3 separate regions of the Homo sapiens genome follow, and all the other regions are linked to region 1. Evidence: promoter capture Hi-C in 16 types of primary human blood cells and fetal thymus (Javierre and others, 2016). All regions are on one chromosome and are shown on one strand. The core of a region is centred on a gene start or on the middle of the fragment in contact, and the rest is flanking DNA. Distances in the headings are between cores, read along the strand shown. Region 1 holds the start of PRDM10 (PR/SET domain 10). Region 2 overlaps ETS1 (ETS proto-oncogene 1, transcription factor). Region 3 overlaps FLI1 (Fli-1 proto-oncogene, ETS transcription factor).

Region 1 (3,440 bases), core at 342-2,841:
CATCAAAGTGGAAGCTATTGTGATGCTGGAATGGTAGGAAGATACAAAAAAAATACAATGTAATAATACACCTTCTTGCCTTACAGCGATGGAGGAGTGATAGAAACAAAGAGAACAGGTCAGAAAAAGAGGCCACAAAACAGTCATGAGTGATTCTGCTGTTTTTAATAAAGGTTAAGTACTGCTAAGTTTAGAGAATTTGGGGTGACGAGACAGGCAAGGTTTCAACAGGCAAAGCAGCAGAATTAGGGCACAGGGCAGAGCTGGGTGGGTCTCATCACACATCTAATCCTCGATGACAGCACAAAGCCACCTCTCCTTGTGCTTAAGTGTACACGCACATTGATTGAAAATGCACTAAAATCCAACTCATCCACCAAGCAAGGCTAAAGGCGCGCACACAAATTCAACAGCGCTGCGTTCGCGTGGCTGGAGGGCAGACGGGGAATATTCCATTTTACTTAGTAGAGTATCAACACCTAGCTGCAGGGTTAAACCTGCTTAACAAAAGCTGGCGAGGGGCTGGAGAGGTGCACACCATCAGCCCTCTCCCGAGCGCCGACCGGCCTCGCCCTGCCTCTGCGCTGCACCCTGGGTGCAGGCGGACTGGGGCAGGGCCGCGACCCCGGCCTCGGCCTCCGCCTCCGCCCGGCCAGCCCCGACGCGGTGCCACGGGACAGACCCGCAGGGGCCACCCCACACCCCTGCGGGCCGGCCCCCCGCCCCGGTCCCGGACGCTAGCTTGGGAAGGCAGGCCGGGGGCCCAGCCATCGATGGCAAGTGGGCGGCGCGGCCTCCGCAGACAAAGCTGGGCGCCCCATCGAACAGGACCCTCCGCCCCACGCGCCCGCAACCGGCCAGCCCCGGAGCCCTGCCCGCACTGCCACCCCCAGCCCGGCGCCCGGCCCCCAGCCCCCGGTGCTCGGCTCCCGGCCGGCGGAGACCTGCCCGCCGCGCCCGGAGCGCCCGCGCAACCGCCGCCGCCGGAGCGCGCAGGCCGCCCAACCGCCGTCCCGGCCCAACCAACGCGGGCAGGGGAGGAGAGGTGCGCGCGGCCGGCGGAGCGTGCGAGCCACTCGGGGGTCGCAGGGGGAGGCTGCGCGCGGCGAAGGCAGGGGCGACGAGACGCCGAGGCCGGCGCTGAACGCGGCGCCAGGAGGGCCTGCTGGAGGGGGCCTTGCCCTCTTCCCCTTGGAAGGTGCAGATGGTTTGACCCCCCACCCCGAGTGAGGTGCCTCGTCCCAGCCCCGGCTGGACTGTACCATCGGGCGGTGCCGCCGGGATTTCTCCCCCCCACCACCACCATCAATTCCCCCCCCACCCGGGTCCGCGGTCGGTTGGCCCCGGCCGGGCTCTGAGACGCGGAAAGAGCTGGGCGCCATTTTGGGTGGGACTAAGCAAAGACGAAACACCCTCCCAGTCTATGGGGTAGTCTGGACCCTGGCTTATCTGGTTCCCTTAATCCTTTAGGTACTTACACGACGTTGGGTGAGGGGAGCTGGAAGATCAGCGGGTCCCCGATCCTCTCTCCCTAGGGGTGATAGAAATCAACCCCCCCCGCCACCTCCAGGTGGTTCTTCCCGCCGCAGAGTGGGAGCAGCATAAAAGGCGGGGTCTTATTAGCATAATCTGCCTGGCAACCTGATCTCGACGTTATATGATTGGTTAAACTCTGTAAGCCCCATGCCGTGCCTAGAGACGAGAAACGCTGGGGCGAACTGACAGGCCCAGATTTAGGAGTCATGACGAAGATCCTGAGACGCTTATTCAGTCTGCAGAGAAGCCAAAAGGAGATTCACATAATGGCCCAATGACTGAAGGCCTCTTTATTTCGTGCTCTGCTGTTCGTGTAAAACCCAATCGCAGAGCGGGTCTCAGGCGGCGCTCGCCTGCGTTTCTACTCTCAGCCAATCAGAAAACCCGACTCTTCGCATTGGGGTCAAGCCCCCGCTGCGGCCCGCGTGCTAACGGGGAGGAAGCTTCCAGCTGTGCCTGGGTGTCTCGGGCGCCGAGGGCAGCCTGCGCCCGTGCTAAGCCCGCCTCCCGCGCGCCCGAGGGCCCGGTGTCCCGGAAGACGCGCGGGGGTGAGGCGGCCCTCGCGTCCGCCCGCCCCGCCACAGATTGCCTCCGAAGTGGCCTGGCCGTGGAGCGCCGGCGAAAACCGAACTCCCGCCCGGCTCCCGGAGTCGGGAGCCTGCCGGGGTCTCGCCCTCAGGACCCCCAGGGAGCGGCCGGGCGCCGCCTATCACCCTGACCCACCGCACCTTGAGAGCGCTTTCACTGCGCCTCTTTTTTCTCCTCTACCAATCTGGAAAGGAAGTGAGTGTCATTTCAGACATTGAGAAACATTATTCAACACTGGTTACCCAGTGACTCAGCTCACTCCTTAACCGCAGGCTTCCACATCCTGCTGTCCCTTAAAATTGCCTTCACAAAGGGCAGCCAAGAGCCCAGCTTTGGAGAGATACCCAGCTCCAACTACCCACTGGCAGGCAATACGCAGGGCAGCTAGATGGCAGAGAGACCTTGGACCTTCGGACCTTCGGGGAGCGGTTTTCCCTTCGGTGATATCTACCTTGCTATGTTCGTGATATCTACCTTGCTACGTTATTTTGAAGATTAAGTGAGCTCTTACTTTACCGAGTAAAGTGCTTTGCTTAGCACACTGTCTGGAACTTAAATGAGAAGTACTGACAATATAACTTACAAAAATCCTAAACTATTGCCTGAGAAAAAGAGGGAGACAGGACAGCTAAGCAAAAGACGAGAATAGAAAACACCCACAGCGTGAAAAACTGTAAAATTAACTCAATAGTATTCTCTTTACTGTTTTTTGTTTTGTTTTGTTGTTTTGTTTTTTGATACGGAGTCTCGCTCTGTTGCCCAGGCTGGAGTGCAGTGGTGAGATCTGGGCTCATTGCAACCTCTGCCTCCCGGGTTCAAGCGATTCTCCTGCCTCAGCCTCTCTAGTAGCTGAGATTACAGGCATGCACCACCACGCCCGGCTAATTTTTGTATTTTCAGTAGAGATGGGGTTTCCCCATGTTGGCCAGGCTGGTCTCAAACTCTAACGTCAAGTGATTCTCCCGCCTTGGCCTTCCAAATTGCTGGGATTACAGATGTGAGCCACTGCGTCTAGTCTACCATTTTGTTTCTTTAAATAGCTGGAAACAACGTGGAAAGAAAAGAGAGCTTTTTTTTTTTTTTAAACTTCGTGACAGGGTGCGGTGGCTCACGCCTGTAATCCCAGAATTTTGGGAGGCCGAGGCGGGTGGATCGCTTGAGCACAGGCGTTCGAGACCAGCCTGGGCAACATAGTGAGACTCTGTACAAAAAACAAAAAGATTAGCCAGGCATGGCAGTACACATCTGTGGTTCCAGTTACCGGCAGGCTGTGCAGGAGGGTTACTTGAGCCCAGGAAGTCAAGGCTGCAGTGAGC
Region 2 (3,440 bases), core at 887-3,386, 1.5 Mb before region 1:
GGTAACAATGACAATCTCCATCACCCAAAGTAACTGGCAACCCCCTCCCTGTGCCTCCAACAGTGAGAGCTGGACTTCAAGACACTCTCTGAAAGTTACCTCTCACTATTTGCTCCCTGGAGAACAGAATGAAGTTTCACGGGCATGGGATCTCAGCTAAGCAGGTGAAAAGGTCCTCCTTAACTTTACTCTTCTTTCCCTCTAAAATAATAGATTATCAGGAGGTACATAACACAGCCACCTTATCTTCTAACAAACATTCAAGGGCCTCTGAAAATTCTACACTGATCAGGATCATTTTTTGTTGACTTGCTCTGTAGTTAACTGCTAAATAGTATTTATTATGGATCAGGCACTGTTTTAAGATTTTGCACATATTCATAGATTTAATCCTGATATTCATCCTATGAAGTAGAATGATTGTACTCATTTTATAGATGCAGAAGCTGGAGCACAGAGAGATTAAGTCATTTGTCCAAAGTCACACAGCTGCTAAGTGGCCGAGCTGAGATTCAAATCCAGACAGGCTGGCTCCAGAGTCTCTGCTCTGAACCATAGAGCTCTTTAGTCTCTAATGGAGTATGGTCGGCGGGGATCTGGGAGCACAGTGAGCAAGTGATCTAATAGACTGGGCAGCTCTGCCCTTCTTTCTTGTCTACACTGATGAAGAAACAAAGACTGACCAAGCTGAGCAAGGACAAAGCTTCTTCCTATCTCTAAGTATAACGCATGTTCCCGATGGATGTACACCCTCTGCTGAGGGCGGGTGGGGTGAGAGGCTGATCCTTTTATTCTTATAGAACAGCAAGTATCCAGGATTAGAGCTCCTGCTCTTATCTGGACATTAAGCTCACCTCACCAAGAAGGTAGAGCAGAGTGTTGAAGGAAAGGAAAAATTAAGTGGCTTGGGAATGTGTTGGCTTTGGCACCTGGCCCCTTCACAGCAGGCTCCACCAGGAGAGAACCAGGAGTGAACCCAATGGCTATATTTGTTTTTAAGCTATTTAAGATCCTTGCAATCACACTGTTGCAATCAAATAGCATATCCCACCTTACTCTTACACTTGCAAGGAAAAGTCAATTCTACTGTTATTTCAGAGTATATGTTAATTTAGCACTTAACGCTGTCAAACTCCTGTGAAGTCTCAAAATAGAATAAAAGTGCATAAAGGTTCTTGGTCAGGTCCTAGCCAGGAAAACAAATAATCCAGGTCTTGCGGCTCCTGTTTGGACACCCCACTTTCTTACTGCCTCTCTTTGGCACTCATGAATTTGGGAGGGGGTGGGGAGAAAATTCTGGTTTAATCATTTAAGCCAGATAAGATCCCACACTAGCTGTCTCCACACATAAGAAACTAAGCAACCCAAAGAAATCATTCTGACAAATATTTAAGTCACAGCTGTGGATAAAAAGCTACGCTGTGAGAAGTTAAACTTTAAACACATGTCCTATATGGTCTGATGGGCAAGGCAAATCCGCACTTAGCCAATGTCTTGTCCTTCCACTAACAAAAGCAGACAGCCCTGGCCAGAAACACCGTTTCTCCCATCCTTGCTTTGCACCTGCAAGTTAAGTCTCAGCTGAGGTTTCTTTGCTGAGCTTTTGGAAGGTATCTTGCAACATTACTCAAAGCAATATACATTGCGAAGTTAGAAACAGGAATTGATTGTACTTCAGCCACTGGCTCACTACATATTTTTATGTCAATTATTTACCTTTCCTGTGACTCTATTTTCCTCTCTGAGGTATGGGCATAATGTTCGCATATAAGCAACTAAAGGTCCAGAAAAAAAAAAGTTGATTATAGTCTATATATTTTTTCAAGTTTTTGTCTTTATTTTTTCCAAGATAATAAATAATGGTGCTAGAAATCAAACCTCTTTACAATGAATGGCAGAAGACTGCCCAATTTCTTTGGCCAGTTGAAATTTTGTTGTATCGAAGTTCACATACAAAAGATGACCAATGGCTTGGAAATCTTTTTTGAAAAAGAAAGCCATTGCAAATATGCTTATTATAATGGACGCTGACTGTAGCGTTAGGCCTTATTGTTCCCATTTTACAGAATAGAAAGCTAAAGAAAGTTACTTGCCCAGAGCTTATTTTTAATCAGTAACTGAAATGACGGCACCATATACATTGTCTCTAATATTTAATATTAAATTACCAAAAAAATTGCCTCAGCTGTTCACTGTGATCTGAAACATGTGTTGCCAGGGCTCTTTTTCATTCCCAGGATGAAAGATCCCTTGTAGGTATGTGGACTGACATATCGACACGATATTTCCCAGATGACCAAATCTGTCTCTTCCCCCATAAACACCCATAACAACACATATAAACAAGCTGTTCTTAAGGAAAGGACCTATTAGTTGAGTTTATATCTTTGATGTGAACTATCTTTTCACTTCTATATATGGTTTCAATCAACTGACAAACAGAACTCATTCTAGCTTCCTCGAACCCCCAAACACAACCATCATAGAAACAGCATTTCTGAATTGTAGGCCTAAGTGCCTTAAATGTCTCCATGGTTCCAGCTGCGCTCTCAGCATTGCTCCCACCACCATCATCCTTGCGAGGAGACAAAATCTCAGCCTTCTGTGCACAGCAGCCCTGGAGCTGAATGTCAGGGGACCCAGAGGGAGGGGACGTGACCTACATGTCTTTATTAATATTTCTGAAGGACCTCAGAATGACAAAACATCAGTATGGTTGTGCTGAAAGTTTAAGCAGCGTAAGAAAGGGTTAAAGTAAGCAATAAATTATGGCAGAGGCAAAGAAGTGTTAACCACAGGGGGCAGCAACTAAACTTATTGATAATCAGATACAACAGAGGAGCCTGTTCTTGAAATTAATTATTTTCCAGGGTGCACTGCCTTCTCCCTAGATCTTTCTATATACTTTCACCTCCAAAATCACTCATCTCTAAGGATAGCTGGCAGTGCCTTATCCTAAAAGAAAGCATCTTTCCCTCTCAAACTACATTTGTTTCAGAAATTCTGTAAGGCCAGACTCTCTTAAGTTGCTTAGCACCAATATTTGTGTCAAAGACAAAAAAAAAAAAAATTACTTCCTATCCTTCTCTTCTTCAAATGCATATAAATGAAAGAGTTGGACAACACCATGTACCAAAGACACAAAGTCACATTTGGGTGTTTGATGCTTTCCTTCCAACGGACCTTTGGTACCAGAAGAAAAATTTATGGCAGATTAGAAACATGGGTAAAGTAAGTAACCTACATGAATAGGGTCGGACGTTTCTCAAAGTTAAGAGGATAATTTCAATTCTCCTCCGATCTCCTTACCCTCAACCCAGAAAAGAGGGGCAAGGCATGTGACAGGGACGCTTGGGGAGGCAAGACCTTATTTGAAAATCTGCCTGAAGGCCAACCCGTTAGACTGCCCGGGGCCCTCCACCCAGCCTCAGTTCTATGGG
Region 3 (3,440 bases), core at 606-3,105, 1.3 Mb before region 1:
CCAACCGCCAGAGACACACCCTTCTGCCTGATGTTCTTTGACTCAAGGAGTTGAGAACCACTTTGGGTCTACACAGATATGACACAGCTACCCGTGTCTGCCTCGGTTTAGAAAGAGCTGGCTGAGCTCCTGCGTGAATCCTAAAGACAGGACGGTCATTTGAGTTTCAGCTGCAGGGATTCTTCTGCTAGGCACCTCTGCTTTGTAATCGGATGTGTACGAGGGCAACACAAAGGACTCCCAGCCCGGCTCTGCCAAGAGACTTTGTTGTGCTCCATGGTTCAAAGAAAAAAGGTAGGGGGAGAGATTAATGGAGCGAGAGGAGGCAAGCTTATTATATTTATCAACCATGTTCGCATTTCAAGTGCCCTGATTTATCTCACAGGTGGGAGGGAAGAACTGCTGGCAACCCTTCTCTCAGGGCTGTGAGTTTTGGAACAGGATTTCCTCTGCAAGTTGTCAAAGATCAGATAAAAGTCTTAATCTCAGGCACACACAGCCACAGGCTTTGGCCTCTGCCACTGTGTGTTCAGCTTTCAGTGATGAGACTGAACAATGGTTGGCGATGCTTTGCATTTAAAGAGGTGGGAAAAGAAAAGGATCAGAGTGGAGGTATGTGAGGCATATGGCACTGCCCGGGGGAAACACGAGTGCACCAAGCAGGCTCCAGAATGAACTCAGGACTCAGGACAACTGAGGTCCCCTTTTGCTCCCTTTGGTGTCCTTTTACCAGTCGTCATGTACACTAAATCAATGCACATACCTGTCACCCCTTTTTAAAAGGATGGCAACCAGATCATTCACCTCTCCTTCCCCATTCCAAGAGCCCGGTTCTTGAGAACCAGGCTGGAAGAGCATGTCCCAGGTACTGGCTGGTGGGACTGTGGAGATGGGAAGCATTTTGACCTTGTTCTCCAGAATGATTTTTGCTAAAGAGATGCTTATTTTTTCAAAATGCAATTCTATAACTTTAATGCCTTTTCAGAACAGAAGAACTGCACCTTTTAGGCACCATGTTGATTAAGTGGCCCTGTGTTAGGGAGTGCTCTGAGGAAACTATGTTGATCTGGCATTTGACCTTGAAACATTTCTAATATCAGAACACAAAGTTCATTCATGTTGCCAGAGCTAGCCAACTGAGTTAGCAAGGGAAGTTTCAGGAAACAGAAAAGTCGAAAATCTTGAAATCTGGATTCTTTCTGTTCTCAAGTCCCACTCTGATTTGTATATTATCACCACCTTGACTATGCCTACCTTGTATTGTGCATTTGTTAAGTGTGTACTGTGTTAAAAACTTTACTTATATCCTCTCATTCCATCCTCACAACCCTATTTTACAGATGAAAACTGGAATCTCAAAGAGGTTTCCTAATTGGCTGAGGTCACCCAGACTGCGGGTGTAGGCCACACGTTTACGCTCACCTTTGTGGGTCAGCCTCTCAGTAGCTGCGCTGCTCATCCTATTCATTTCTGTGCTTACTCAATAGGGAGAAGAGCTGGGTAAGGAGCAAATCGGTGCTACTAAAGTCAGGCTCAGTATCAAGAACATGCATTCTATTCTAGAATGCTGATAAATACACTGGCAGTCCCAGAAAGTCACTTCCAAAGCAGTAAAGAAGGGCTCTGGAACAGACACATGTTTTCATTTCTTTTTGAAGGCTTCCCTTTGAGAACAAAGGTGGTCTGTGGTGCTGGGCCCTTCAAGCCCTGACACCCACTCCTTTTGTCTCTGCCTCTTGGGATCTTGGGAGAGCTACACCAAGGGCTGCGTGATGGATACACCACGAAGGGGTGTATTTATTTATTTGCCAGGGAAATGTATTAGGGAGAAGCAAAGACTAATTAATGATTTTCAAGGGAAACTCAATCTATGGAATGAATGGTTTTCCCAATGGGCTGTATTTAGAGGCTCACAGAAATCCTGCATGCTTCCATTGCCGTTTCCCATCCTTTCTTAGCCTTTGCTGAATGTGTCCGGAAATCTTTTGCAAAAGAAAAGGCACCAGTCTGTTTGCCTTGAAAATGAAGAAACCAAAAGGTGTAACATCCTTCTTCCTTCTCAGGTGGAGTAGTTAATTTTACAAGTGCTTCGAGAGGTCCTGAGGAAAAGGCACATGCCATCATGTCCTCTCCCCGTGAAAGAAGTTCATAATAATCTGTGCAAAACAGCACCTTTGGATAAGTTCAATGTGGCTATATATAGACGCTTGGCCGTTTCCTGTTGCTCTTGCAGCTTGCACAGGTTTGAAGGTAGGGTGAGGCTGTGACCATAAGCCACACGGTGACATGTACATTAGCCATGCCCTCTGCTTCCTGTGCTGCTTATGACCTGGGCTGGACTAACCCCAGCACTGCTCAGGGGCAGGGAGCCCTTAGGACCTAAATGTGGGGGGGTTGGTGAGTTTGCTCTCATCTTCTCTGAGCACAGGTTGCCTGGCTGCAGATAGATGGTGCAAAACACACCAGCGAGCCAGTGTGCTTGTCTAACGGTCTGCTCGTGTAACTTTTGCACCACAAAACAAGAGGTCAAGTATGAAAGGGTGGTTAACAAATTGAGCAGCCCTTTTTTTTTTCTGTTAAAGGGGCCGTGTCAGAAAAAACAAACAAAAAACAAAAACAAAACAAAAAACAAAAATAAAACAAAAAACAAACAAAAAAACCCTTCCTGAGTGAACTTGCATGAAAAATCATTTGGCAAAACCCAAAGTTCATAGCCATGTGCTGAAAAGCCATCATGCTAGAAACGGTCATCGTGATTTGACCTCAGAACCGTCTCCTATTTTAAGATTTCAAAATGCTTAAGTAGATGGGGCGCAGCGGCTCAGGCCTGTAATCCAGCACTTTGGGAGGCGGAGGCGGGCAAATCACTTGAGGTCAGGAGTTCGAGATCAGCCTGGCCAACATGGCAAAACCTTGTCTCTAATAAAAATACAAAAATTAGCTTAGTGTGGTGGCACACGCCTGTAATTCCAGCCACTTCGGAGGCTGAGGCAGGAGAATCACTTCGAACCGGGAGGCGGAGGTTGCAGTGAGCCGAGATCGTGCCACTGTGCTCCAGGCTGGTGGACAGAGCGAGACTCCATCTCAAAAAAAAAAAGAAAAGAAAAGAAAAGAAACAAAAATTGCTTAACTAGACATGTCATGCAATTTTGGAGAAGAGATGAGTGGTAAATGTGACTCCAGCTTTACTAAACAGTGAAATAAATTAAGGCACCAAAGCATGCTGAGCCTTGTCTAAAATCCTATAGCAGAAGAGGCCAGAAAAAAATTCACTGGTTCCCTTCTTTCTCCATCCATTCAGCCAATCAGTACCAGATTATTCTCCAGCTATCTTCCCCCCTTCTCATCTAGGACATCTAAGGTAGAACCGTGCATCTTAAAAAAGCTTTTCAGGAAATTCTGATGGGCAGACAGAACCAACGTGAGTCTATGTCATTTTG

Evidence for each region. Contacts are between HindIII fragments. The CHiCAGO score rates a contact against its expected background, and 5 or more counts as called.
Region 2: a contact is called between a fragment that was not itself captured here and the fragment with the promoter of PRDM10 in region 1, in 1 of 17 cell types (neutrophils). The highest score is 6.1, in neutrophils.
Region 3: a contact is called between a fragment that was not itself captured here and the fragment with the promoter of PRDM10 in region 1, in 1 of 17 cell types (neutrophils). The highest score is 6.4, in neutrophils.

The regions. Positions count from the first base shown.
Region 1 is chr11:130,001,244-130,004,683 of GRCh38, forward strand. It overlaps PRDM10 (PR/SET domain 10), which reads right to left and starts at 1,592. Exons shown (of 21, transcript NM_199437.2): 1 at 1,479-1,592. PRDM10-DT (PRDM10 divergent transcript) reads left to right here and starts at 1,381. Exons shown (of 1, transcript NR_024233.1): 1 at 1,381-3,440. RefSeq lists silencers at 626-805, 836-885, 896-1,215, 1,926-2,315 and an enhancer at 1,726-1,815. The HindIII fragment of the contact is 10,759 bases long and covers 1-1,977 here.
Region 2 is chr11:128,518,079-128,521,518 of GRCh38, forward strand. The region is part of intron 3 of ETS1 (ETS proto-oncogene 1, transcription factor); the gene reads right to left. Among named protein-coding and RNA genes, the nearest start is that of MIR6090, 2.6 kb to the right of the region's middle. The HindIII fragment of the contact is 2,871 bases long and covers 702-3,440 here.
Region 3 is chr11:128,728,917-128,732,356 of GRCh38, forward strand. The region is part of intron 1 of FLI1 (Fli-1 proto-oncogene, ETS transcription factor); the gene reads left to right. Among named protein-coding and RNA genes, the nearest start is that of SENCR, 35 kb to the left of the region's middle. The HindIII fragment of the contact is 3,055 bases long and covers 329-3,383 here.